7 separate regions of the Homo sapiens genome follow, and all the other regions are linked to region 5. The links are contacts of gene promoters, found by promoter capture Hi-C in blood cells and fetal thymus (Javierre and others, 2016). All regions are on one chromosome and are shown on one strand. The core of a region is centred on a gene start or on the middle of the fragment in contact, and the rest is flanking DNA. Distances in the headings are between cores, read along the strand shown.

Evidence for each region. Contacts are between HindIII fragments. The CHiCAGO score rates a contact against its expected background, and 5 or more counts as called.
Region 1: a contact is called between a fragment that was not itself captured here and the fragment with the promoter of GPA33 in region 5, in 7 of 17 cell types (endothelial precursors, naive CD4 T cells, erythroblasts and 4 more). The highest score is 10.9, in endothelial precursors.
Region 2: a contact is called between a fragment that was not itself captured here and the fragment with the promoter of GPA33 in region 5, in 12 of 17 cell types (naive CD4 T cells, naive CD8 T cells, total B cells and 9 more). The highest score is 10.1, in naive CD4 T cells.
Region 3: a contact is called between a fragment that was not itself captured here and the fragment with the promoter of GPA33 in region 5, in 2 of 17 cell types (naive CD4 T cells and endothelial precursors). The highest score is 6.1, in naive CD4 T cells.
Region 4: a contact is called between a fragment that was not itself captured here and the fragment with the promoter of GPA33 in region 5, in 4 of 17 cell types (endothelial precursors, naive CD4 T cells, naive B cells and 1 more). The highest score is 7.6, in endothelial precursors.
Region 6: a fragment that was not itself captured here is called in contact with the fragment with the promoter of GPA33 in region 5 in 12 of 17 cell types (endothelial precursors, fetal thymus, total CD4 T cells and 9 more); the score reaches 8.8 in endothelial precursors.
Region 7: a contact is called between a fragment that was not itself captured here and the fragment with the promoter of GPA33 in region 5, in 1 of 17 cell types (naive B cells). The highest score is 5.7, in naive B cells.

What each region holds. Positions count from the first base shown.
Region 1 is chr1:167,512,179-167,516,233 of GRCh38, forward strand. The region is part of intron 1 of CD247 (CD247 molecule); the gene reads right to left. Among named protein-coding and RNA genes, the nearest start is that of CD247, 4.3 kb to the right of the region's middle. The HindIII fragment of the contact is 2,044 bases long and covers 982-3,025 here.
Region 2 is chr1:167,445,133-167,449,060 of GRCh38, forward strand. The region is part of intron 1 of CD247 (CD247 molecule); the gene reads right to left. Among named protein-coding and RNA genes, the nearest start is that of CD247, 71 kb to the right of the region's middle. The HindIII fragment of the contact is 5,276 bases long and covers 1-3,928 here.
Region 3 is chr1:167,425,020-167,429,243 of GRCh38, forward strand. It overlaps POU2F1 (POU class 2 homeobox 1), which reads left to right. Exons shown (of 16, transcript NM_002697.4): 16 at 1-2,321. Among named protein-coding and RNA genes, the nearest start is that of CD247, 91 kb to the right of the region's middle. RefSeq lists enhancers at 1-200, 201-1,171. The HindIII fragment of the contact is 2,700 bases long and covers 1,182-3,881 here.
Region 4 is chr1:167,492,219-167,496,245 of GRCh38, forward strand. All of the region lies in intron 1 of CD247 (CD247 molecule), which reads right to left. Among named protein-coding and RNA genes, the nearest start is that of CD247, 24 kb to the right of the region's middle. The HindIII fragment of the contact is 3,098 bases long and covers 327-3,424 here.
Region 5 is chr1:167,087,803-167,091,808 of GRCh38, forward strand. GPA33 (glycoprotein A33) reads right to left here and starts at 2,575. Exons shown (of 7, transcript NM_005814.3): 1 at 2,443-2,575. The coding sequence starts at 2,485. LOC124904451 (a long non-coding RNA gene) reads left to right here and starts at 798. Exons shown (of 3, transcript XR_007066717.1): 1 at 798-882; 2 at 1,521-1,609; 3 at 2,984-3,579. RefSeq lists an enhancer at 2,601-2,750. The HindIII fragment of the contact is 4,295 bases long and covers 1-3,344 here.
Region 6 is chr1:167,528,919-167,532,986 of GRCh38, forward strand. It overlaps LOC107985224 (a long non-coding RNA gene), which reads right to left. Exons shown (of 2, transcript XR_001738279.2): 2 at 621-1,337. It also overlaps the pseudogene AKR1D1P1. Among named protein-coding and RNA genes, the nearest start is that of CD247, 12 kb to the left of the region's middle. The HindIII fragment of the contact is 2,829 bases long and covers 1,331-4,068 here.
Region 7 is chr1:167,405,443-167,409,467 of GRCh38, forward strand. All of the region lies in intron 13 of POU2F1 (POU class 2 homeobox 1), which reads left to right. Among named protein-coding and RNA genes, the nearest start is that of CD247, 110 kb to the right of the region's middle. The HindIII fragment of the contact is 3,104 bases long and covers 603-3,706 here.

The sequences.
Region 1 (4,055 bases), core at 754-3,253, 420 kb after region 5:
CTGTTCTCACCAACCGAAGTCCTTGCACGGCCCCCAATAAATCTGCAGCCGACGCACAAGCAGAAGGGATGGACTTTGTCCTTGGATTTTTCACAGCAGAGGCTCCCACTTAGAATGTTAAAAATATTGTGGTAAGGTGAGAGCCCAGATTTAAAAAGTATTTGGAGAGGCAAGGAAGAAGGAAGTTCAGGCTCTGAATTCTGAGAGCCAATACCTGTGGGGTGGGGTAAGGATCGGGGGCTGAGTCATTAAATGTTCTTTAAAACTTTGTAATTTCAAGACCACACACAACTCATTTTGTAGCTAAAAGGGATGTTCAATCCTCTCATAATTTATCTCACAGATGCTAAAACTAAAGCCTAGAGAGAAATTTCTGCCCAAGTATACACTGCAATGTAATGACAGAGGAAGAAAAAAAGCATGTCAGTCCAGTGTTCCCCCATTATTGCATTGGGAAAATGATATTCTATTTTGCAGATTGGGAAACTGAGGCACACATGCTAATGGTTCTGGCTTTCCAAGTGCCTTTTGTGTTTAGGCACTTCCGAATCAGATCTCCACTCCACAGTCCCCTGCGTGAAGAGGCACCATTGCCGCCATCTCACAGAGGAAGAACAGGGCTCTGAGGTCGGGAGGGGAAGGCGGCTCAGGACTTCTGGCTCCAGAGCCTCCTCTCCTTCCACCATAGTGCCTGCTCCAGAGGAGACACAAAGGCTTGGAGATGGTAACAGAGAGTTAGAGAAACATTTTCTTTCCTTGATGGGATTGTTTTCAACAGAAGTCTAGAGCATCCTGCAAAATGCTGTTTTACTTTAACCTATTCTTTCAAATGTCATTCCTGGATTTGCCCAAGAAAGTAACAAAAGCTACATATGTAAAGATTTTCTTGTAGGATTAGCTAAAATAACAAAAATCAGAAATAGTCCAAATGTACAACAATAAGGAAATAGTGAAGAAAATACGATGCATGGATGCTATGGAAGCTTACATAGCAATTAAAAACAATCACAAAGGCTAAACATGAAAACAATGCTTACAATAAAATATTAAGAAAAAAAGCACTTGAAACTTTTTAATGATATGTTTTATGTTTTGATTATGATATGACTTATGTTTTTATGTTAACTATAAAAAGATAGTAAAATTTTTTACACTTGTAAAAAATGTTGGATTGGAATATAAAGAAGTGAGAATGCAATATTATTGGGCTGGCTTGGTAGGAATTTTGAAAAAAATTTAATTAAATTTTAACTTCCGTCAGTGATTTTTATATCTTTACTAAAATATCTCAAACTAAGAGAACAGAAAAATGTTGGCTACCTGAAATATTTATTTAGTAACCTGGATCAAACCAGACTAATAGTAAGTATCTTGCTTTTTTTTCTTTCTATATTTTGAGGAAACTGGGTGATTGGATACTGTGGTTTATACTATAATCCAGTCTTTTGCTACCTGATGCCTTTCATTAGTTTATTTTTAGTTCATTAGTTAACAATCTCCAACAGTGTTAGCCTTGCTTATTTTCCGCTTTCCTCCGGTGTTAAAGCCTAATCAGAAAAAATGAGCATATTTCTTTATTTTTAGTTATAATGTTAGTTGAATCATATGAAATTATCCTTTTTGTAGATCTGAAATAAACAAATAGTGGAAATTTCATATGGTCCAACCAGAAAACTTTAATAATGGCAGGGTTTTATCTTAAACCATCCTTACAACTCATTTCAAATAATTCTAATCACTCAAACTGCCCTGTCCCCTCCACTGGTTTAATTTCTGGTTTTTGTTTTGTTTTTAAAATAACATTGTTTAATACTACGTTCTCTAGAGGAAAGGTCCAAACAATGCCAATTCAATATACCCACCAAATAAACCATTAAAGTTAATTTAATCGTATGAAAACATCTAGATTTCCTTCATTCACTCACCTTTTAATTCATTCAACAATTCTTATTTTATTTTATTTTATTTATTTTTTTGAGATGGAATCTTGCTCTGTCGCCCAGGCTGGAGTGCAGTGGTACGATCTCAGCTCACTGCAACCTCCGCCTCCCGGGTTCAAGGGATTCTCCTGCCTCAGCCTCCCAAGTAGTTGGGACTACAGGCACGTGCCACCATGCCCAGTTAATTTTTTGCATTTTTTAGTGGAGATGGGGTTTCACCACATTGGCCAGGCTGGTCTCAAATTCCTGACCTCAGGTGATCCACCCGTCTCGGCCTCCCAGAGTGCATTCAACAATTCTTATTGATAATTATTGCACATTGACTCTGCTCCAGGTACCATGCTAAGTGCTGGGTAGAGCTGTGAGCGTGACAGGGGCGTCTTTGTTTTCAGGGAACTTAAAGTTGTTTTTTAGACCGGAAGACATACTATGTACATGCGCTGACTAAAGCGATCATTTTGTTTTGATTAACAGGTCTAATGACCGGTTTAATTTTTTTTTTTAACCATATTGAATGTTTGTTCAAAGTGACGAACACCATCACTTTAGTGTTAATAAAAATTAGCCTTGGCCGAAGCAGAGCTAAGAAATTTATTTTGAACTATTTCCGGTATTTATTAAATCAATTATCTGACCTATATAAGGTCCTAAGCCTTAGATAAATAAGGCTTGGGAGAAACGATTCCCAAAGTGCGTGTTTGGACAACTCTAATCTAAGAGAGTTCCCTCAGGGCAACTGGACCCTTCTAAGTAAAGCACAAGACACAATGCTGGGTAACTTTTGACTGGAAAAGTATATATCCAACAATAATTACATGTATTTTTTTAAAGAACAAAAGCAAAAATACAAAGAATTTAAAATTAAATACAGCAGTGGTTATTCACCTAAGCCAGAGCTCCCCAGGACCGTTTCTGGGGGATGCTTAGCAGAAGCAGATGTGATCTCTAGGCTAGTAAGCCTGAGAAACGCTAAAATTGAAAAATGAAATAGCTCATTTGGATGAGCAGAGCTAGGCGATTGGAGGGCGAAACAATCTGATGGTGAAAATGCCATTGATGAAAAATTTGTACTGGTATCACTTAAAAGCTTGCCTCACATTCACCTCCCAGCAATTTTAGCAAAGATTTAGTGTTCAAGAAGTTTGCATTTAGATACTCAGTCGCTGTGCACCCACAATAGCCCTTTGGCTTCAGAATCTAGGTGGCCACCCGGACCAGTGATGACTGGGTGGATTTTGTTTCTGATTCCTTTCAAAGTAATACTTTGAAAAACTTTTGTCTATGAGCCTTATCTAAGATAGCTAAAATGTCAGTCTCCACAGAGGCAAAGTAAGTGGCACTGAGAAGTAAAAAAATCCAGCCAATCCCCCTGCCCCCTATTTGTGGAAATGGGGCACAGCCCCCATCTTGCATATATTTTTTCAGACATGTTTTTACTTCGGGAGAATATTCCCCTACAGAGTAAGTATCTTTAAAAAATGAAAATGGTGGATGTAACAGTCATCCTATGACCAGCCAGAGCTTTGCTGCTTTTTCACTATCGGGCCTACCTCTGCAATCATTGTTATGTTTCTGTGCTGGTATGGGTGTGCCCAGAAATCAGAAGAGGGATGAGTTGGATTGCAACAGATGGAGAAAATGCCCACTGCTGCTTTATAACATATTGAAAGCAAATGAAGAATCCCAGCCATGGGTTTCCATCTCCTGTTTTGAGAACAAGAAGACAGTCCGAGATGTAATAATAGTAATAGTAAATACAATGTTTACTTATTGGCTGTCTACTATGTATTGGACACATTACATTACTTCTCATTGTCACATCTCTGCAAAGAAGGTATTACAAGTCTTTCTTTAGAGGTGAGAAAACTGAGGCCCAGAGAGGTTAAGTAACTTGCCTAAGGTTGCACAGCTAGGAAGCGGCAGCACTGGGACACCACCTGAAATTAGCCTGGCTCTTTCTACCACGTCCAGCCACCTTCCTAAAAGCAGAGCCACTCACAAGCCTGGAAGCTTTGCATTCCCCAAGGCTGCATGTCAGAGCTCCATCTCCTCACTGATAAAAGACAAACACCACACTGACCGCTGGGTGCATTCTTGGCTACTGCAGAGTAGGGA
Region 2 (3,928 bases), core at 1,049-3,548, 360 kb after region 5:
TCAGGCTGGTCTCAAACTCCTGACCTCAAGTGATCTGCCCGCCTCGGCCTCCCAAAGTGCTCGGATTACAGGCATGAGCCACCGTGCCTGGCCAAATATGATACTTCTTATGGGGTGAGGATAAAATAAAATAATTCTTATGGGGTGAAGGACCCCATAAGGGTATGTGTTCCATTTTGCCACCTATTGTTACTGCCATGATTTCTACTTTAAGCCCATGCACGATAAGTTGGAACCTTCCTGCCCTGTAGCAAGATCCCAGGAATAGGCCATGTGAGATGCTCAGAGGAGGCTGGGGGCAGCCAAAGATGATCACAGAGTATCTAGGCATACGGGTCATTGTATCTAAGTGTTGTGAGTCTAATTAGTGACAGTGAGCCTCGCCATCCCTTTGTAGCCTTTTGTCATCTTCATTAAAAAAAAAGCCCTGAATTCAGGAAGTCTCATGGTACTGACCACTAACAGGAAGATTCTGGAGCCCCAGAGTGCACCCTGGGGGAGACGCACCTATCCTTACAGAATCTGGTTTCTCTGGGTGAGATTTACTTGAATTGCGTTGTTTGTCTGTCTGTCTCTGAGCCAGACTATGAACTTCTGCTAACAGGGATCAGGCCTTAATCAACCTGGTCCTGCCATACCCTGAGGCTGAAAATACACGCTGGTGCCCTTTCCCCTGCAGTCAACCTCCTTCTCCAGCAAATCCTGTTTCGGAGCTGGGCATCTGCGGGACTTACTCACATCCAACTAATAAGGATTCTTCTCATTTGAACTCTAATTTCTACTTTTAAAGTGACTTCCTGTGTCTGATGGAGTTAGATTCTTATGAGTGCCAGGAGACAAACAGGGGGCTACTTTTGGGCCCAATTCACAGGTGGATAAACTGAGATCAGAGGAATGAAGCAACTTCACCAAGGACACCTGCAGGTTAGTGGCAAAGCTGGAAGGGAATTCCTGGGTCTCCTGACTCCAGGTACTTCTCTTAGCCTTATGGCTTCGATGCAGCTGACCTATGGGCTCAGGATCCGGAGTTTCCACCTACCTCTGATTTCACAGCCCTTGCCATTTTGCCCACTTTTGACACTTAGTCACAACGGCTTGTAAACGTTCCACTTCAAGTCCGCCCCCCACCACTGGCTCTGGCAAGCACAGATGGTGCCTTATAGTTTCATTTGCACCTTTCCCTCCTCACCCGCACATCACAGGCTTAGAGAAGAGCAAAGAACATAATAAGTCTTTGAGTCAGAAAGACTCTAAGACTCAAATGTGGAATCTGCCCCATTATTGGCTTGTTTTGGAACAGTTTTCTTAACCTCTCTGAGCGTCAATTCTCCTATCTGCAGAAGGGCTTTGACAAGACCGATTTCACGGGTGCAGAGAAATGAGGTAAAGTTTGTGGGGTGCCCTGCACAGTGGCGCATGCTAAGAGGCTCTGCAGGTACAAGGAGTGACAGCAGGGGATGGCCCTCTGACCTCCCACACCATCATGCCACGGTTGGGGACAGAACCTGGCCAGGTTTCCCAGCCCAGGATGGGGATACCCACTCTTCAGGGGTGTTTGAAGATAAAAACAGATAATGGGGGCCAGGCGCGGTGGCTCACGCCTATAATCCCAGCACTTTGGGAGGCCGAGGCGGGCGGATCATGAGGTCAGGAGATCGAGACCATCCTGGCTAACATGGTGAAACCCCGTCTCTACTAAAAAATACAAAAAAATTAGCCGGGCGTGGTGGCAGGCACCTGTGGTCCCAGCTGCTCAGGAGGCTGAGGCAGGAGAATGGTGTGAACCCAGGAGGTGGAGCTTGCAGTAAGCGGAGATTACGCCACTACACTCCAGCCTGGACAACAGAGTGGGACTCCGTCTCAAAAAAAATAAAAAGAGATAATGGGTGTGTACAAAGTGCCTGGCACACAGTGGGAGCTCAGTAGTGTGTAGACTTTCTGAGAACTCCTCACTTCACAAAATGATAATGATGTAACACATGCATGAAGCATACAGTTTAGAGAGCTCTTTGCACTTGCATGATCTGGCTTAATCCTCAGAACAACCTTGCACAATACGGGCAGAATTATTACCAATTCTATTTTGCAGATAATGACGTTGCAGCTCCAATAGGTCACATGGCTAGAGATTTTCTGAGTGCATCTGATGCAAAGTCCCTTCTCAATCTACCTTATCCCAGTGCCTCTGGGGTTCCTGTCATATAGAGAGCTTCCCACCTCTTTCAGGAGTTTCTTCTTTGGTAGGCACTTCTGGCCTCTGCTTGAATATCTCTGGTGACAGGAAGCTCAGCACCCAGCAATCACTGGTGGAGAGCTCTAATTTTCAGAGTTAAAAAAAAAACTTTGAACCTAGTTCTGCCTTCAGAAGCACAAATCACACAGATCCTCCAATTTCTATAGGGCAGCCTTTCAAACCTCACCCCCGTCCAGCTTGTTTCCACTTTGATAGGAAGCACGGCAGGTAAGAATGAATCCTACGAAGGCGACAACTGCAATCCAAGTCCTGGTGTTGCTACTGTGTAATCACTGAGTAATCACAGCGACCTCCCAGGGTGTGTGACACTCAAATGGGAAGGGCTTGGTACCTGGTAAGCGCTCAGTTTGTAGGCACTGATGGAATCAATATGAATCACAGTAGCTCATGATCCAGGTAGGAGTGGCCAGCTTTCTACTCGCCAACCTTCCTTCCTTTGAGTCCCCAACTTTGAGCCCTGAGTCCTGCTGCTGCCAGCTCCACCCCCAGGCTCAGGCACAACTGGTGATGACATTGCAGGGTAAAAACTTAGAAAACAGGAAGTCACTGTTCTTAGGAAGGCAGTGGCAGCAGCTATGGGTGGGGGGGTGGGGGCGGTGTCTGTGTTGGGCAGGGTGCTGGGTGTGATGCCGACCCATTGACCACAGCATCCAGGCACCCAGACCATCCCCCTCAGTGGGTTGCTCCCTTTCATCGAATAACTAACTTTCACTGCAGCAGAAAAGATATAGGCTAGACACACAGAGTAATAGTTATAACCACTGGTTGAAGATTTGTTCTGGGCCAGGAACCACACGTGTGAGTTTTCTCATTCAGTCTTCACAGTGACTCTGATTTCACAGCTAGGGAAACTGAGGCTCAGAGAAGTTAATAACATGCCTAATGTCTACAGCCAGGGTTGAATCCAGGCACATCTGGATCCACAGTCCAGGTCTTAACCACCACTTGGTACTGACCTTCAAAGACTTGCTGATCCTCAGAGGTGGTGAGAGGGGTCCTCACCAGGCTGTGGAGTCCCTTCTCCCAGGATCGAACCATTATAGCAGGTCATATTCTTGACTCTACAATTAGCTTTCTTTCATTGAGGGCTGAGAGGCCGGCCTGGGGGGTTGACAGATACAGAAGGCCTGCTACCAAATGTGAGGCCAGGACTCACACTGCCCAGTGCTTATAGCAATGACCCACTGGAGATACCTCAATCACCCTGAACTGCAGAACGACTCCAGCTAATTTACTGGCAACATATAATGTTTTACTACTCTCTTTAATTTGCTACCAGCCTGGCCAACAGGGTGAAACCACATCTCTACTAAAAATACAAAAAATTAGCTAGGTGTGGTGGCGGGCGCCTGTAATACCAGCTACTCAAGACGCTGAGGCAAAAGAATCGCTTGAACCCAGGAGGTGGAGGTTGCAGTGAGTTGAGATAGCACCACTGCACTCCAGCCTGGGCCATAGAGTGAGACTCTGTCTAAAAAAATAAATAAACAAAAATTTTTTTAAAAAGTACCACAGCCTCCTTAATTCTCTCCTCAGTGTCAGATTTCAAATATTCATGTTTCATTGTAAAATTGGATCATTTGTTCAAAACTACCTACAAATTATGTATTCCCATAGATAAGGGTTCCAAGGGAAGAGGGAAGAACAGGGCTGTATGATTTCTTAGGGGTAGCG
Region 3 (4,224 bases), core at 1,282-3,781, 340 kb after region 5:
AAAAATATCCAAATATTTAAGTTTATTATTATTATTATTATTATTTGACAATCTTATATCCAATGGGCTCTCTAGAAGCTGCATCCCCAGCCCTTTCACCTTTTCTTTGAATGTAGTTCCCAACCTTCAATTCCCACCCCTAATGCTGACAAAAAGCTTAGCCAGGTCATGATACTGCTGCTATAAGCCAGGGGAGGGTGGTTTCTTTGTTTTGTTTTGTTTTGTTTTGTTTTTCAAATTTCCAGCCAAAACCAAAGATTTCTTAATGATTGTATAAACTCAAAACAAACAAAAGAACCAAAGAAAAGGGAAGTCTTCAGCATCAGTCCAGTCTGTGGTGTCCTGGCACTTAGAAGAGTGAGGCCAGGGAAGGTGGGGCGGGGGGACCCTCTGACTGGATCAGAAAGGGCAGGCAAGCTGCTTACCACCTTCCAGGGTCCAGCACAGGTGCATGCCCCTAGCTTTGGCCCTCACAAACTTGTGAGCATGCCCTGAAACAAATTGGCATTTCAGATTTTCCAAAACAAAAGTCAAAAAACCCCATCACCACCATCATCCACCCTACACCAACCAGGGTCACTATGGGGACTTAGCACAGGGCCTAGGGAGGGTGGGAGCTGCTGCTGGACTGGCCCGAGGACTCCACAGAGTGGGGGACGTTGAAGACACTGGCGCACGATTGGCTGCTCTGCTGGGTGCTTTAACCTCTGGGGCTGGGCGAATGCACGCCACGGTGCCCTTCTGAGCCTTTTTTTCTTTTCCTGTACTGGAACTGCTTGGAAGTGGCTGTCCTGTTTGTGAGAAAACATGCAGAAAGATTATCAAGCTTTTCATTTCTCTTTATTGTAGTTTTCTTTCCTTTTTGCAGCACCACTGTGCAACTATGCATTGTACTTCACAACCTTTTGTGCTAGGTAGATGCCTGTGACTTTTTAACTTGGGGGGTGGGGGGATTGCAAATGAAGGAACTTTTTACATGGATCTTTTTAATCTCAGTTGGTTGGGGGAGGGGGGTACTTGGTTCTTGGGTCACACAAGCTCTATCCCAAAGCAAAATCCAAATGTTAATAATATTAGCCTGATGCAGATACCAAAGATAATTTCTTTCCTGCAGAACCTTAGACTCGTGTATTAAGTACGATTACCCAGCACTTGCATTAGTCTAACCTCAGTAATTCCAAAGCTTAGATGTATATTTTGGTATATTTCTGGGATATTAAAAAAAAAATGTCGTTTAACTTCTTGTTTGTTTCAGTGTAATGCTCTTAAAGTCATAGCATGAAAATAATTGAACTGTCCTATTCTTAGTAGTTTGAAATAATAGTATTTTTGTATGTTTTGGGTGTGTCTATGTATGTATTAACATAACAGTTTTCACTGCCTAGGTGTTCATAATAAAAAAGAAAATGAAAAAAGTTCTGAGTGTACATAATATTCAATAATAATCTCCCACCAGGTGTCAATTTAGATTGCATATTCCTCATTACTGTTCCCAACTGGGATTTTGTTTTCTTTTAAAGAGACAGTGATCGTGTTTTTCTAAAGATGTTTTCTTTCTCTCTTTCAATATCTTAACTCACTTTTTTTTTCTTCCTTTTTTGTCTTAATTATTAATTCAGGGGTGTTTGTCCACTGTTGTCAAAGGAGGGGCACAAGGGGAATTGGCCCCCGGCCTCCTAGAACTTTTTGTTTTATGTACTTTAAAATGTGAGTTTGAGTTCTTCTTTGTGGAAACTTAAGATGTGGTGTAAATGATTCTTTCCAAAATTGTCCAGCAGCTTGAATGAGGCAGTGACAATTCTGAGGTGGTTTATTGGGAGTCCTTCTACATTTCTCTTAGATAACTCTGCACTCTGGGTGGCTATTGTGTAGCCTTACTGCCCCAGAGTGCCTGTTAGCCAAATATTTCCCCTCTGATAGGAATATTTTCTAAGAATCAGCTGATAACTTGCGTGCTGGACCTTGTTATCTGTGCCCCTGGGAGACACACGTTTTCTTGGTTTTGAAAACCTGAAACACAGGCAACTTTACATTTTGGGGAATTAGCTGATGCCTCCTGAAGCCTGAGGAGGTGGCGGGGAATATGAGCGGTGCTGTCTCTCTCAAAAGTGCCCTTTAGATGATTCCCCCTCCTAGGGCTGCCTGCAGGGGCTGTAGGCTTGGGAAAGATTGTGTAGGTGACAGTGAATCAGAATGAAGTGGTAGATTTTGTGTAGATGCATTTGTCTGCTGTAATTTTTTATATATATATTAAACTTACTGTAACTGTACAGTTCATTTCTGTTGTAAAACATCATTAAACCATCTTCCAAGTGTTTTCACATTGTTGGAGTTTCTTTGAAATTGCTGTGTTGGTATTCTGGATGCTTCACATACAGATTCTCAGACTTCGCATAATTCAGCTTCCAAATTGTTTTTTCCAAGTGCTCTCAGGAACCCCAGAATCACCATAAGCACCCTGGTTCCTGCCCCACTCCACCCTTCCTCCTGCACTCCAGGAGGAGCTATGGCCACTGCATTTCTCCCTCCCAGACCCTCAGTGTGGTTTCGTGGGACCCTGAGTAGCAGTAGTCTCCCTCAGGCCCAAGTACTTTGTGTGATCAAACACGCAGGCCCATGATTGATCCTGCAAGGGAGCTCTTCAAAGCTCCATCTCACTGTGTATTTGACTGCAGAACTGGGACCGAACTCAACTTTTTCCAAATGTATTGTTTAAACTGCACTGCCCCTCTAGCATTTCTTGCCAAGTCCTGAACATTCACTGGGTGGGGGCCGGGTGGGGGGTCCTCCGAAGGAAGGTAACCCTGAACTTGGCATCTGGTCCTCCTCCTGTTCGAGGCTGCACAACTTAGCTTCTTCAGACTTATAAATACCACTTAGCATTTAGTGTCTTACTACAATTCATTCATTTCATGAAAAGTAAAGTTTGAATTTTAAAATGAATTCCCCACAGAGAGAAGGCTTCAGCTTACTGAAGAACCTGGGGAAGTTGTCTATCACGTGCTGGCCATCTGGCAGGCATTCTTGAATTAGATGATGTGGAGAGCCGTTGTCGCAAGATGTGCTCGCTCTCCTGGAAAGGGACCAAAATGGGAAGGCAAATGGTGGGTCCCTTTCTCCCTGCTCCTTTATCATAGAATTTATATTTTTCCATTCCATTCCTTAGATATATGGCTTATGTCTCAGTTTGTAGTTATTTTCTTAAAATAATGTCAAGTTTTTAACAGAAATCCTGTTTTTGAGATAGTGTCGTGCTCACAGACTTAGCAAGCAAAACTCGTTTGTCATATCCTAAGGAATGAGGATAAACAACTGATGAGATTCTGTTACCCTGTAGTCCTTTGTGAAAAAGTTGTTAAATTCTAACCCATTTCCAGGTTTGTATACAAAGCTGAATTACCTATGGCAGGATGTGAATAATATATGCCCTTACTCTTTTGTTTTTGGAGGGACTTACATCTCTCCAAAGACCCAGGTTGAAGTTAACAGGAAATCCGGTGTTAGGACTCAGTCATGGGTTCACAAAAGTAGTTGTTGATCAACAACTGAAATGTCCAGCACCAAGCAACCAAAACACATCACAAGTTATTCATGGACAGTTTGAGGCCTGTGGCTAAACAGTTGGCCAAATGACAAGGCTTTAAATCACCCCGGAAGTTGTCCTCTTAGCCTAAGTAGGTCATCTGCCATTTTTTCTCTGCCAAGCCAGGCTTTGCAGTTTTGAGTATTTCTCTGCTTATAGGAACATTTTAAACTAGAAACCTTGGATCTTATTCCAAGAATGACCTCAAATTATACTCTAAGAAGAAAAGCGATCAGAAATATTCATATCTTATCTCTGAGTTTAGTGACATTTGAATAAACGTTTGAAAAATATTGAAAGCTTCCATCTTTATATATAATGTGTTTCCTCAATACAAGTAAAATTCCATGTTTCCTTGATTCTAAGCATATCTTCACATTTTAACCCATGAAACAGATCTACATCTTACAATGGATATTTAGTGTTTTTGCCCTTGAAATAAGTTGATACATCAGTAACCAACAGTGTCTTAGGATGGAGGGAGTGCAGTTGTGCTGTGGAGAAGGCATTGCCAGACCTCAGGAAAGACAGGAACCCTGGCAGTTCCAGGGCTAGCCGCTCTCCCCTCGGATTCAGGGCTTTGCTCTCTCAGAAACTGGTTTCTCAGCCCTGCTTCTGTGAGCATATCTCAGTTCTCCCCC
Region 4 (4,027 bases), core at 626-3,125, 400 kb after region 5:
GTAAGACAGTCTTGTCAGTATTGGAGCGTGCTCACAGTTGACATGTGTGAAGGACCAGGAGAGCCGGAAGAGGTCAGCAGGCTCAGGGGGTGCTGTTAGCCTGTTTCACCGACAGAAAGGCTTAACCCCTGCGGCGCCAACTAGACCAGGAGACCTTGCCTCTCTATTATTCTCCCACTGGCTGTTGCTTATTTTTGTTAGTCCAATATTTTCCACTGCTCTCAGAGACAAAGGTAGGCAACAGTTTGCAAAATTTAGACGCTTATGTGTGCACAAAGGAAAAAAAGAAGAAAGAAAGAAAACAACAGTCTGGTGAGCTTCTGTGAAGCTTCTTAACTAGCAGGGAGGGGAATTTTCCTTTCTGGTCACGTAGGCTGCTGTCTTCGGCTTCGATTCGTAAGCCACCTCCCAAGCCCCCATTAGCCCCAGGTAGGGGACATCCCATCCCCCTAAACCTCCTTCTTGAACTGACAGTTCACCCCTAGAAGGAGGTGGGAAACCACTCAGATCCATCTCAAAGGGATGCCTACCAGGGTAGGTGTGTGGGAGGAAGGCTGAGCCCATGCTGTGTTCAGGGGCCCCCCCAGAAGGTGTCAGCCTGGAGGAACATGCCCCACAGTTATAAAAGGCATCATTCCAGGAGCTATCATGGCGTCTGCTAGGGGCAGAGAGGAAGGGGAGGCAGGAAAGGGGCTGAGTATTTTGGGGCTGTATGCTTATTGTTCTACTTTTCTGTTGAAGTTATTGCAGTTGCTGCCCTCAAATTTTTCCTGCCTTTCTCCACCCCCAATTTTGCCCTATTTTCCCTAATTTTTCTCCTTTTTTTTTTTTTTTTTTTTTTTGAGATGGAGTGTCACTCTGTCGCCCAGGCTGGAGTGCAGTGGTGCGATCTCGGCTCACTGCAACTGCCACCTCCTGGGTTCAAGCTATTCTCCTGCCTCAGCCTCCTGAGTAGTTGGGATTACAGGTGTCCACCACTATGCCCAGCTAAGTTTTGCATTTTTAGTAGAGACAGGGCTTCACCATATTACCCAGGCTGGTCTCGAACTCCTGACTTCAGGCAATCCGCCAGCCTCGGCCTCCCAAAGTGCTAGGATTACAGGTGTGAGCCACCGCACCTGGCCAGTTTTTCTCCTTTTGTCCCATCTTCCTTTTTCCTTCTCCATCTGTTCCTTTCTGCTTCTCAGAATAAGCATCTCTATCCTTAGCTTCAAATCATAAACAACTTAGAAACAGTTACTTAGCTGAGTACTGTCTCTGTGCCAGGCCCTGTGCTGAGGGCTGACATTCATTGTATCTTTGGGTCCTCACAACAGCCATATGAGATAGGTGCTATTGTGCCCATTTTATAGTTGGGGATACTGAGGCTTAGGAAAGATAAAGTAACTTGTCCAAGATCACACAGCTGGAATGTGGCAGAGCTAGGATTTGAACCTTGACAGTCTGGCTAGAAGGGACCTTACTGATCATCTCTGTCCAAATCCTCCATAATGTACAGAAGAAAACAGGACCAGAGGCATCAAGTGACGTGTCCGAGGCCCCACAGCTAGTTAGGGGCAGTGCTGAGAACAAGAAGCTGGCCTCCTAATTCTGAGATTCTTCTTGTTTAAGAAGCATTTTCCATAGGTGGGCATCTGCTAGGCTTCTTTATCTAGAATTATTAATTCCAGGAAGCATGTGCCCTGGTCAGGCACAGAATCAGCAAAAACCCCACTGGAGACCCAAAATACCCTATATGCTCTCACCATTGCAGAATCTGTTGTGTCTGCAGGTGCAGCCTCCGGGACCCAGGACTTTCTTCTCAGGGCTCTGCTGAGTTGGGTGGGGGAGGCTGGAGGCTGCAAAATGATGACAGAGCTTGGGGCTATGATCTGGACTGGGTACCCAGAGCTAATAGGAGAAGAGGACAAGCAGGGGGACAGAACTGAGTCAGGAGACACTTTAGACGATGGAGGGTTGGGGGATGGAGGTGGCTAGTGAATAAAACACTTCTGAAGGGTCTTTGCTGCCTGTGTTGATGGCCATGATCAATTCGGATCCCCAGGGCCAGTTCAGCAAAACCTCTGTCAACAAATAGAGGATTTGTTTAATCTTTTCTGAAAGAGTCCGATGTTATCTAAGTGAGGACTGGCCAGGTAATTGGAACGTTCTAGAGACTGTTGGGTTGACTTGGATTTGGGGTCAATAAACATAGCGGCTCCACTACACTAGTGTGAGGAGGACCTCGGGAGAAATCGCATAGCTCCCTGGGCTGCAGTTTTCCCATCTGTGATATGGGGATAATGTCCTCACCCTGTCGACCTCATGGGGCTGCTGTGAGGGTCAGATGAGAAAATGGGTGGGGAGGTAATAATTAGTGAACAGCACCATTCAAAGCTACAGTGGTCTTATTGCTGTGTTTTCCTAATTGTATTTTGCACTGTGGCTTTACACAGCCCATGTCTCTGGATTGTTAAAAGGATCAAAAAAGATCATGAGTAGTGCATTCCTCGGCATTTTGTATCTCCTATAATTCCTGGATACAGATAAATGTTTATTAAAGAATGTGAAGGTCTCATCAAAAACCAAGCATGAGAGGCAAGACAATTATTACCTCAGATCACATACGCCTTGGATTTCAGAGCTGGAAAGAGGGTTAGAGACCTATTCCAGGACTTTACTCTACAGCAAAGCAGTCCGGGTTCCAGAGAGCCCAGGTGACTTGCCTTGGCTGGGCTGGACTCTGTTCTCTCCCCACCTGGACCTTGTGTCCGAGGAGCAGTGTTGGACCCTCAATTCAGACAAAGTGGGAAGGCAGATCCCAAGGAGGGGAGGGCTGGTGGCCCAGGTGGCTGCCTGGAAGATACCATCACTTCTCATGCTGTCTTAGGTGAACTTTCAAAGTCCAGCGTAAGAAAAAGTTTCCAGCAACAGCATTGTGGTTAGTATTGCAGGCTTTGGAGTGAGACAGTCCTGGGTTTAAATCTTGGCTGTCTACCTAGTATCTATGTGGTCTACGATATGTTACATAACCTCTCTAAGCCTCAGTTTCTTCAACTGTAAAATGAGGATATCCTGAGGTTGTTACCTTACAGTTTGCTGAGAGGAATAAATGCAATAATGGACGGGTGTGCTCACCCCAGAGCTTGGGACTGGGTAAATACTCATAAATGACAGAGGTGGGAGTAGTTGTTACAGTAACCTACCAGAGGGAAGAAGAGTGTGCTCCCGTTTAATCCTTATCACCTACGCAGTGCTTGGCATATAGGAGCGCAACAGATGTTTCTTGAACAAACATCACTAAGTAATGCCTACTTCTGCCCTTATTCCCCCTCAGCATGTTCCTTGCCCAGCTGCTAGAATGATCCTGCCAAAACATATAATCATGTATCTTTTCTGCTCCAAGTCCTTGACCTCCATCTCACTTAGAGCAAAATGTCCTTCAAGCTTGTTTGCAACTGTCACTCTCTCCCCAAACCCCCAGAACTCAATACGTCTGACCTCACCTCCTACTGGCCTTCCCCTCACTCATACCACCTCTTTGCAGTTCCAGGAACATGCCAGTCTGCACTGCCACCTCCGTCTTCTCCAGGTTCCCACTTGGCTTGCTCGCTCACTTCCTTCTGGGTTTGACTAGAATGCCACCATCTTAGCAAGGACATCCCTGCATACCCTACCCAAAACTGTATCCCCACACCACCAGCCTGACACTTCCTATGCACCTTCTCTGTGTTATTTTTCTTCTCAGCATGTATCACAACTATCTACATATTTTTCAGTTTACCTCGTTTATTGCCTGTCTCCGTCTTTAATTGTTAGTTCTATATGGGATCTGGGATTTTGTTGCTGCTGTGGTTCAGTTTGTTCATGATTGTTTCAAAAGCACCTAGACTGTTCCTGCTACATAGTAAATAATAAATATTGGTTGAATAAATAAATGAATGAATAGCATTAGTAGTGGTGTTTGTGTGTTTGTTCATTTTGTATGGCAAGAATTGTGAAATAAAGCAGAAGGAAGGAAGGTAGGTAGGTAGGCAGGTAGTGAGTT
Region 5 (4,006 bases), core at 1,325-3,824:
CTACTAGGGAGGCTGAGGCAGGAGAATTTCTTGAACCTGGGAGGCGGAGGTTGCAGTGAGCTGAGATCACACCACTGCACTCCAGCCTGAGCAAGCCAGACTCTGTCTCACACACACACACACACACACAAAGCAGACCAACTTTTAGTCGGTTTTATGATTGCTTTTAAACTCCCTACTTTAAAAGCACGGCCTTGCGTTTGTGCCCCCTGCATGGAACCTTATGAATAGCTTCTGCTTCCTCCAACACCACTTGAGTCTTGAGGCCCATTCATCAGTGCAGTGCTTCCCTGCCCAGGTCTTAGCAGAATCAATTCCTCGGAAAGGTCAGATGGGAAGAGAAAGAAGAGAAAAGCCCAGTAAGTCCTCTGGAACCCAAGTCAAGCTCCACCTCCTCCAGGAAGCCTTTCCTAATGTCCCTGCTCCTAACTGGGTCTCCCTTACCTGCGCAAAGGAAGAGGTGGTATCCTCTCATGAGGCATGGTGGGGAGGGCCGCCTGGTTGCTTTTGGTCGACCTTTGAAGGTCTTCCTTGCTCACCTGCAGTGGCAATGGCTATTTCACTATTTGGTAAACTCTGTTTATATACCTCAAGTCGACCACCAAGCCTGGCTTCTCCTGCCCCACTGCTCTGGCCCCTTCTTCCTCTTAATGTAAGATATGGAGGAAGAAAAGTTGGTGGGCACGTGATTCTGTGCTGGGCAGGCTGTGGTGGGAGGGATGGGGCGGAGGTAGAAGACACTTCATCAGTGTGTCTGAAAACATGCCCAAGACTCGTTCTGCTGGGTGAGTTCCCCAGGGGTCACTTGCCTTCTCATAGGAAGAAGCAAAATGTCCTGCTCCAGGCAATTCAGAGTTACGGCCACTTTTCCCTCCAAGCTGGGTGAGCATCTTGTTTTAAGATCGTTTTTCTAAGCCAAAATTTCTTATTTTTATTCATGCATGGGTCGCAGCCAGTCTACAAGTGTGGGGATATGTGTTGGGGGTTGGGGTGGTGCAGGCATGGAGGAGCTTCTGGCTTACCAGGAGAAGATGGGAGAATCACTGGCCCAGCCAGGGAAGGATGGGTATTTCCTTCAGCCTCCCTCTCTCAGGCCCTGGAGCATCCTCCCTGCCTGAATCTGATGGCTGAGATAGGCCCACTTATGACTAATCATTCCAGACTCCTCACTTCTATGGCACCTGCACAAACTATGTGCTCAGTAAAGAGTTGTTTGGATAAAGGAATGAGCCAACCAGTCCATCTTGGTGGATGATGAGGGGCTTTCTGCCTTCAGTCAGATGAACTTGAGCCAGCCTGAGAGAATGATCTTACCCAGATCTTCCTCCAAACCGTGTGATCCAGCCCTTCCCCAGCAGCAGGCTGCCCTTCCCTCGAGAGCCCCAAGGCCAGGTGTTGAGAGAAAAGCATGTCTAGGGCCTGGGAGAACCAGAATGAGCTGTAGGCCCCGTGGCCCGGGGCTTTCCTGTGTATGCTAAAAAGTGAGCTCTAAACCAGTCTCCTGGTTTCCACTTCCCCAGGCTTGGTGCTCCTGAGTTTCCTGGTATAGCTCTTCTCCTCCCCGTTGCAGCTGGATCCTGGAAGCCCTCAACAGTGTCTGAATTGCAAGGTGATGGCCAAATACACTAAACCAAAGATATTCCTAAACTTTGCCAAACCCTGCGTCTCTCAACTTCCTTCTCTCCATTCTATTTCCTTCCAATGCCCAGCAAAATGGTTGGTACCTTAATGCCAAGACTTTCATTCTAACCCTTAGACACTCCATAGGTCCCCACAGAACACTGTGCTATTAAGCACTTGATGTGGATTCAACCATATACTCATGAATGTCTGATTTTGTTCTGGGAGGTTTCCCTCCCAGAGGGAAATGCTCAGAGTCCCAGAATTTTCAATGACCAGGGTCCCAGAAGTGGCAAGGAGCTTTGGCCTTTGGAAAAGACCCATCTAGTTTGTTGTTTGTTTTTAGGGTTTGAATCTTCTCTTGCTCTGTGAATGATACGGGATAAGTTGCATTGTCTCTTCTGCCTCAGTTTCCTGTCTCTTTCTCTGGTTTTAACACAAACGTTAATATACTAGATAATGAACATATCTAGATCCACACATCCTGGATTTTCTAGGACAACTCCGATTTCAAATACTTTGTCCACATTGTCAAATCCTGTGTCTGATCCTATAATCTAATTTGGGATAAGAAAATATGGTCTTGAGAGTACTTTGAATTCTTCATTTCAGCAGTGGGCTAGAATGTTATTTACTAATATGTAAATAAAAACCATTCTGATTCTGGGCACTGGTCCGGAATGTGTAATTCTGGCCCAGCAGGAACGCAGCTGTGTTGCTGGAGGCCCTTCCTGGGAAGGCTCTGACAGAGCCTCTCCTTCAGCCCTAGGTCCCCATGTCTCACCCACCCCTGGGCACTGGAGAGAAAAGGGGCCTACTCACCTGCACAGAGTGTCCACAACACAGGCCACATCTTCCCCACCATGGTCTTGCTTCTTCTCTGCCCTAAACCTAACCTGTCACTGGCAGCCTCCAGACAGGTCTGAGCTGTCTGGTTAAAGCTACAGCAGCTTCTGGCCTGGCCCAACTGGAGGTCCCTGCAATTTTCCCTCTTCTCACCCACCTCTGCCCAGCCTCAGCTGGATTGGCAGGTGAGCTCCTCAGCTGGATTGGCAGGTGAGCTGGGGCTGGGCTCATGTGTCACCTACTCCAAAGGTCCCAAGAGGAGTCTTCCCTACTTCCCTCAAGTTCCCCTTAAACCAGCCACCTCCCCTGCCTTCTCCCTACTTAACAAGTGTACAAAGTCCTAGACTGCTCACAAAGGGGTAGGCCTCTCTTATAACTGACAGGAAATAAATAATAAAAAGGGAAATGCACTCAGAGGTAGGGTTCCAAGCTAGTAAAAGAAGGGTGTTGCCCATATTTGCTGAAACACTTCAAGACACAATGTGATCTGTTTCTCTACTTCTCTCCTCTTCTACAGCCTCCACCCCACAGTGCGCAAGAGATATAGTCATGAAGAAAACAGGAAGTCTCCCCCTTCAGAGTTTATATTCTGACTGGGAAAGTAGCAAGTTCATAAGTGAAAGAAGATCATCTTGGGGACATGTGACCAACTTGTCTCACTTTTCCTAGGACTGTCCTGGTTTTCAAACCAAAAGGAACCCCCTCAGTCCCAAGCAAATTTGGATGATGGTCACCCTACTGAAAGAATGATCAGTGGTGTGGGACCATAATTCTCCAGGAGCAGTGGCTGTTGCTGGTTTCTTCCATAGATATTTTAGATATATATACACTGTTCTGCAATGATTTATTCATTTTTCATTTAATGAAAGGTTTTAGAAAGCTTTCTGTATCGGTATGTATAGCACCACCACCATCATCTTTTTAAAATGGGGATGATATTTCACTGTATATGAGTGACATGATTTATTTAACCAAACTACTTTTAAGATTGTTTTTCCTCATCTTTCACAACTATGAAAAGATTGCAACCAATATCTATTATGTGTACGATATTTCACACGTGTTGTGATTATACATGTAAGATAAATTCTTAAAAGTAAAATTTCTGACTCACTGAAAGTTATGCATATTTGTAATTTTTATAGATATTGCTAAACTAGCTACCATGAGAATTTTACAGCCTACACTCCTATTAGCAGCATATAAGGATACCTATCTCCCCACACACTCACTAACACAGTTACCAAGTGTTTATGACACAGTTATCAAACTTTCTGCTCATCGCCAATCTAAGTGAACATGATATCCCATGTATATATAATTTACTTTTTAAAATTATTAGTGAAATTTGGCCAGGCGCGGTGGCTCACGCCTGTAATCACAGCACTTTGAGAGGCCAAGGTGGGCTGATCACGAGGTCAAGAGATCGAGGCCATCCTGGCTAACACGGTGAAACCCCGCCTCTACTAAAAATACAAAACATTAGCCAGGTGTGGTGGTGTGCGCCTGTAATCCCAGCTACTTGGGAGGCTGAGGCAGG
Region 6 (4,068 bases), core at 1,495-3,994, 440 kb after region 5:
TTGTAGGCCTGGCATCAAGACCCCCATCTTCTAGCAATAGTATCAATTTTGCTTTGAAGAGTCAACTATTCTCCACGATTATAATCTCTTTTTTTTTTTTTTTAATGGAATCTCTCTCTGTCGCCCAGGCTGGAGTGCAGTGGTGCAATCTCGGCTCACTGCAATCTCCACCTCCCAGGTTCAAGCAATTCTCTGCCTCAGCCTCCTGAGTAGCTGGGATTACAGGTGCCTGCCACCACTCCCAGCTAATTTTTATATTTTTAGTAGAGACGGGGTTTCATCATATTGGTCAGGCTGGTCTCGAACTCCTGACTTCAGGTGATCTGCCTGCCTTGGCCTCCCAAAGTGCTGGGATTACAGGCGTGAGCCACCGTGCCGGCCGATTATAATCGCTTGATGAGGCTATCAGGTAATGTCAATCAGCTGCTTTCTCCCCGGACTTTAAATCTTAACAGAATGAAACAAGACCTGGACATAACCCTTGTTTGTTTCTCCTTCTTGGATCCATCCCAGAAGTTGCTCATATTCTGTGGCTACACGAACACTGTTCCAGCCAATTTCCTTTTTTGCTTAAGCTATCCAGAGCTGATTTTTGTTGCTTGCAACCAAAGGATCCTGACTTACACAGTAGAATTTTTGGAAGTTGTATTAGCTTTCTATTGCTGCATAACAAACTATCACAAATGTAGTGGCTTAAAACAACACATTTATGATCTTACAGTAATGTAGGTCAGAAGTCCTGATATAGCATGGCTGAGTTCTCTGCTCAGGTACTTACAAGGCTGAAATCAGTGTTGGCTGGGGCTGCAGTTCTCATTTGAGGCTCAGGGTCTTCTTCCAGGCTCATTGGTTGTTGGTAAATTTTATTTCCTCTCAGTTATAGGAGTGAGTTCCTGTTTTCCTGCTAATGATTGGCCAGGGAATGCTCTCAGGTCCCAGAAAACACCTGCAGTTCCTTGCCAGGTGGCCCCCATAGGCAGTTCACAATGTGGATGTTTGCTTGCTTCTGGCCCAAACACAGAGCATCTCTCTGACTTAGTCTTCTGGAACCAGCTGGAGAAAACTCTGATTTTAGAGGATATGCCTGATCAGGTCAGGCCCACCCAGAACACTCTCCCTTTGCCACATAAAACCGCAAAAGCACAGGAGTGATAGCTCATCGTATTCACAGGTTCTTCTTACGATCACGAAGATTGTACCATGGCGTGTCAATCTTGGAGGCCACCTTAGGATCCCATTTCTCACAGAAATGCTGTTCAAAAAGATGCTCCCTTCTTCCTCTGGGAAGATCAGACACGCCTGGTGTTCATCTTTTTCACCAGATGGAAGAAGCTTGCCTGGGAATGAAGCCAACACAGAGAACAGCTGAGCAAGAGACATAAAGACAGGCAGAGCATTTGCTGCATTGTTGAGAACCTGGATCGTGCCATGCCTAGCTGCCTGTCCCAGGGGCTTTTCCATCTCACGAGCCAATAGCTTTTTTCTTAAGTTATTTGACTTTGATTCTGCAACTTGGAATTGAAATGGTCTTGAGTATTACAGATGCTGAAATTGCATGGCTATTAAAGACATGTTTGCAAACTTCACAGCTGGCACAAATCCACTTTGATGGGAGATTTACCTAGTGCGCCCTACCCCTCAAAAGACTAATTGCCCTTTAAAAAATTAACCGCACAATTTTGGGGCTTTTTTTTAGTGAGACACTAAGGAGGAAAAACACACCTAATGTCCAAACACTCCAGAAAAAAAAAAATGAAAGTAAAAGGCTGCACAAAGATTTTCTATCAAAAGCCACTGTGAAAGATGGCAAAAAAAATAAGCTGGGGACATGGGTAAGATTAGAGAGATACTATGAATGGATAAGATGAATTGCAGTTGACCCTTGAATGACTCAGGAGTTAGGGCTGCTGAACCCCATGAAGTAAAAAAAATCTGCGTATAACTTTTGATTCTCCAAAAACTTAACTACTAATAGCCTACTGTTGACCAGAAGCCTTACTAACAACATAGTCAACTAACACCTATTTTGTATGCTGTATGTATTATATACTGTGTTCTAACAGGAGAGTAAGCTAAAGCAAGGAGAATGTTATTAAGAATATCATAAGTACGAGAAAATGCATTTACTATTTATTAAGTGGAAGTGGATCATCATGAAGGTCTTTCTCTTTTTTTTTTTTTTTTTTTTGAGACATAGTCTCACTCTGTTGCCCAGGCTGGAATGCAGTGGAGTGATCTCAGTTCACTGCAACCTCCTCCTCCCTGGTTCAAGCAATTCTCCTGCCTCAGCCTCCTGAGTAGCTGGGATTACAGGTGCCCACGACCATGCCCCGCTAATTTTTTGTATTTGTAGTAGAGACGGAGGTTTCACCATGTTGGCCAGGTTGGTCTCAAACTCCTGAATTCAGGTCATCCTCCTGCCTCAGCCTCCCAAAGTGCTGGGATTATAGGCATGAGCCACTGTGCCTGGCCATCACAAAGGTCTTCATCCTCATTGTCTTCACATTGAGTAGGCTGAGGAGAAGGAAGAGGAGGGTTGCTCTTGCCATCTCAGGGGTGGCACAGGTAGAAGAAAATCCATGCATAAGTGGACCCATGCAGTTCAAACTCATGTTGCTCAAGGGTCAACTATAGTTATATATAACCTACTAAATATTGCTATTGATAGCCAAGCCCCTTTAATTGGAAAAAGAACCTTTTTTGCTTTAATGGGGGTGTCTTACATTTGTGTGTCATTTTCACATATTAATATATTGTATTTTTTAAATTTATTTTTGAGACAGGGTTTTACTGTCACTCAGGCTAGAGTGCAGTGGTGCAGTCATAGCTCACTGCAGCCTTAAATTCCTGGGGCCAAGCTACCCTGTCGTCTCAGCCACTTGAGTAGCTGGGACTACGGGTGCACACACCACAATGCCCGGCCAATGTTTTAATTTTTTTTTAGTAGAGATAGGGGTCTCCCTGTGTTGCCCAGGCTGGTCTTGAACTCCTGGCCTTCACGGATCCTCCCACCTCGGCCTTCCAAAGTGCTGAGATTACAGATATGAGCCACCATGCCCAGCCATATTGTCTTTTTAATCTTGATGACTCAGTAAGGTTGTCAATATTGGTGTACCGTTTCCATTTTATTTATTTATTTATTTAAATTAAAAAAAAAAAATTTTTGAGATGGAGTTTTGCTCTTGTTGCCCAGGCTGGAGTGCAATGCCGCGATCTCGGCTCACTGCAACCTCCGCCTCCCAGGTCCAAGCGATTCTCCTGCCTCAGCCTCCTAAGTAGCCGGAATTACAGGCCCCCCACACCACAACCGGCTAATTTTTTGTATTTTTAGTAGAGATGGGGTTTCACCATGTTGGCCAGGCTGGTCTCAAACTCCGGCTGCCCCAGCTTCCCAAAGTGCTGGGATTACAAGAGTTAGCCACCATGCCCAGCCAGTTTCCATTTTGTAGTTTAGGAAACTTAAAATTAAGTTATTTTTCTAAGGTCACAAAGCTGGTAGAATCAAAACTAAAACTCAAGTTTTCTGGGTGCTGGTTCACAGTAGTGGAAGAACATGAGCTTTAGAACAGGTTAGACCTAGGTTCAAATTCCAAATTCCATCTACTAGCTGGCTGTATGTTTTGAACAAGTTAATAAATATCTGAAATCTTTTGTCCCACATTGGCTAACAATGCCTACTGTACTGTCTTGTTGGAGGAATGAGTAAGATGATGTAGGTTATGTGCCTAGTATATAGAAGGTGTTGGGAAATGTTACATCACAGAGAGGAGGAGAGGACTGTAAAATGTTTGCTGGCAACTGCTCTGGGAAAAATCCTTCCAGGAATGATTGGAACCCAGCATGGGGAATGGGGTCACTGTCTTGGTGGAAAGGGTGGGAGATGAAGAGGAGGAAAGAGGAGGTGGTGTGGACAAGCCCTCCTATGGGGAGGTGAGGGAGGCCCCACATTCCCAGAATAGGGACCTGTGTGCTTCCTCTTTTTATCCCTCCAAAGTTCTTGAGCACTAGGTCAGAATTTAATGCACCTGCCTCTCATTCGTTATGAATAGACAGTTGCAATTCCTGGGA
Region 7 (4,025 bases), core at 905-3,404, 320 kb after region 5:
CAAGGTGAAAGGATCGCTTGGGTCCAGGAGTTCAAAACCTGCCTGGGCAACATAGTAAGACCTTGTCTCTACAAAAAAAAAAAAAAATGAGCAAAATTAGCCAGGCGTGGTGGCACGTGCCTATAGTCCTAGCTGCTCGGGAGGCTGAGGTGGGAGGGTCACTTGAGCCTGGAAAGTTGAGGCTGCAATAAGCTGAGATTGTACCACTGAACTCCAGCTTGAGAACAGAGCGAGACCCTGTTTGGGGGAAAATAAAAAAAAGCCGTGAAGGATATACAACATTTGAGCACTATCAACCAACTTGTTCTAACTGCCATCTGCAGAACACTTGGTCCAGCAACAGCAGAAAACACATCCTTTTTATGTACACATGGAACATCCATCTCCCAGGATACTTTTAGCCATAAAACAAGTTTCAGTAAATTAAAAAGGATTAAAATCATACAAAGTGTGTTGTCTGATGACAACTGAGATAAACTAGAAATTAACAATAGAAAGAAATTTGGGAAGTCCCCATGTATTTGAAAATTAAAACATGCATCAAAGAAGAAATAACATTTCTCCTCTATTTTCCTATCAGGCCGGTATTACCCAGATACCTAAGCTTAGATAAATAGCACAAGAAAAAAAAATTACAAACTCATATTCCTCGAGAAAATATAAACCAAAACTCTCAAAAGAATCTTAGCAAGTCAAATCCAGCAACATACTGAAAAAATCGAACGATTATATACATCATGGCCAAGGAGGATTTATCTCCCAGGAATGTATGGTTAGTACAATAACTGAACATCAATTAATGTAACACATTATAATAGTAGAAGAAAGGACAAAAACCACATAATCATCTCAGTGGATACAGAAAAGATATTTGTAAAAATCCAAAACCCATTCATGATGAAAGCTGAAATACAAAGGAACTGCCTCACCTGATAAAGAGCACTTACTAAAACTCTCCAGCAAATAGAATACTTAATGGCAAAAGACTGAATACTTTCCCCACTAAGATTGAGAATTAGGTAAGAGTGTTTGTTTGCTCTTGTGGACTTCTGATTAACATCGTCCTGGAGGTTATAGCCTCCAGTAAGGGGGAGAAAAAAAACGGAAGACAATTTGGAAAGGAAGAAGTTAAACTGCTTGTATTTGCATTATTCTATATGTATAAAAATACTAAGGAATTCACCAAAAAAAGGTATCTAGGACTAATCAATAAATTCAGTATTGTTGCAGAATACAAGATTGATATATAAAAAATAAATTACATTTGTATGTACTATCAATGGACAGTTCAAAAATGAAATTTAGGAAATAACTTGTATGTAACAGTATCAAAAGAATAAAATACTTAGGAATAAACTTAAAAGAAGTGTAAGACTTGAACAATGAAAACTACAATTTGCTGAAAGAAGTTAAAAGAAGTCTAAATAAAGAGACATTTCATATTCCATGTTCATGTTTTGGAAGACTAAGCATTCTTAAGATGACAGTTTTTCTCCAGCTTGAGATATATGTGCATCTCTCTTTCTCTCTGATTTCAAGGTTTATCCACATTATAGCATAAATATATATTTTTTTATTTTATTTATTTTATATATTTTATTATTATTATTATTTGTTTTCGAGACAGGGTATTGCCCTATCACAGTGGCGCAATCACATTTCACTGCAGCCTCAACTTCCCAGGCTCAAGCAGTCCTCCCACTTCAGCCTCCCCGGTAGCTGGGACTATAGCCACATGCCACCCGCCCAGCTAATATTTGTATTTTTTGTAGAGACGAGGTTTTGCCATATTGCCCAGGCTGGTCTCGAACTCCTGGGCTCAAGCAATTCACCCACCTTGGCCTCCCAAAGTGCTGGGATTACAGGCATGAGCCACCATGCTCAGTCTTCCAGCTTGATTTATAGATTCAACAAAATCATAGTAAAAATTCCAACAGGTTTTTTCTTTGTTTTGTTTTAAAGAAATCGATAAACTCTTGGAAGGGACCAAGAATAGCCAAAACAATTTTGAGAAAGAGTGAAATCAGAGGATTTTCATGTCCTAATTTCAAAGTTTACTGTAAAGCAACAATAATCAAAGCAGTGTATTACTGGTATACATATAGATATATAGATTAAATGGAACAAAATTAAGAGTCCAGAAGCAAAACTTTAAATTTATGCTTTATTGATTTTTGACAGAGGTGCCAAGGCAATTCAATAGGGAAAGGACAGTCTTCAACAAATGGTTCTAGGACAACTGGATATCCATATGCAGAAAGAGGAATAGAGGAATTTAGATCCTTACCTTACACCGTGCATAAAAATTAACTGAAATGGATCAAAGGCCTAAATATAAGAGCTGAAACTATAAAGTTGCTAGTAAATAAAGTAGGACAAAATCTTTGTGACCTTGGGTTAAGCACAGAGTTCATATACACAGCACCAAGAGAACGATCCATAAAAGAAAAAAAAATTAGTAAATTCAGCTTCATCAAAAGTAAAATCTTTTGTGCTTCAAAAGCCACAGACTGAGAGAAAACATTTGCAGATCACATATCCAATAAAGAAATTGTGTCTAGAATGTATAAACAACTCTTACAACTCAATAGTAAGAATATAAACAACTCAGATTTTTAAATGGACAAATGTTAGTAGACATTTTACCAAGGAAGATATAGGAGTGACTAGTAAGCACATGGAGAGATATGTGACATTAGCATTACTCATTAGGGAAGTGCAGATTAAAACTGTAATGAGATACTACTTTGTACTCACTAGAATGGCTATAATCAAAAAGACCCAAGATGATAAATGTTGGGAAGGATGTGGAGAAACTGGAACTTTCATGCATTGCTTGTAGGAATGTAGAATGATACAGCTTCGGAAAACATCTTGGCAGTTCTTTTAAACATAAATTTACCGTCCTACCCAGCAATTTCCCCAAGAGAAATGAAGACATTTCTACACAAAAACTTCAATGTGAATGTTTATATAGCAGCCTTATTTATAATATCCAAGAACTGGAAACAAACCAGTGCTCATCAACTGGTGAATGAATAAACAAAATGTGTTATATCTACACAGTGGAATATTATTCAGCCATAAAAATTAATGAGGTGTTGATTCGTGCTACAATGTGGATGAACCTTGAAAACAGAATGTTAAGTAAAAGAAGCCAGATGCAAGAGACTACATATTGTATGATTCCATTTGTGTGAAATGTCCACAAAAATCTAGAGACAAAAAGCAGATAACTAGGTAGGAGTGTGACATGATTACAAACAGGCACAAGGGATCTTTTTTGGGAGTGGAAATGTCATAATCTGGATTGTGATGATGGTTGTATAACTGTAAGTTGATTAAAAGTCATCAAATTTTAAAGCTGGATGAATTTTCATGTGCTTACTAGTCACTCCTATATCTTCCTTGTTAAAATGTCTACTAACATTTGTCCATTTAAAAATCTAAGTTGTTTATATTCTTACTATTGAGTTGTAAGAATTGTTTATACATTCTGACACAATTCCAGTTCCTTTATTGGATATGTGATCTGCAAATGTTTTCTCTCAGTCTGTGGCTTTTGAAGCGCAAAAGATTTTACTTTTGATGAAGTTGAGTTCACTGATTTTTCTTTTCTTTTATGGATCATTCTCTTGGTGCTGTGTCTGTGAACTCTTTGCTTAACCCAGGGTCACAAAGATTTTGTCCTACTTTATTTACTAGAAGCTTTATAGTTTCAGCTCTTATATTTAGGCCTTTGATCTGTTTTAGTTAATTTTTATGCACAGTGTAAGGTAAAGATCTAAATTCCTCTTTCTGCATATGGATATCCAGTTTATAAGTTGTATCTCAATAAAAGCTGTTTGAGAAAAGACAAGACAGGGCGGGAAGCACAGGGAAGTGCCAGGTACTATATACACACCTTGACTATAGCTTCCTACTGCCCCTGTGAGGTGGTTGGTGGTATCTTATTTTGCTGTTGAGGACATTGAGGCTCAGCAACAATAAGTTCACTAGTCAAAGTTACCCAAGTAATTAAATTG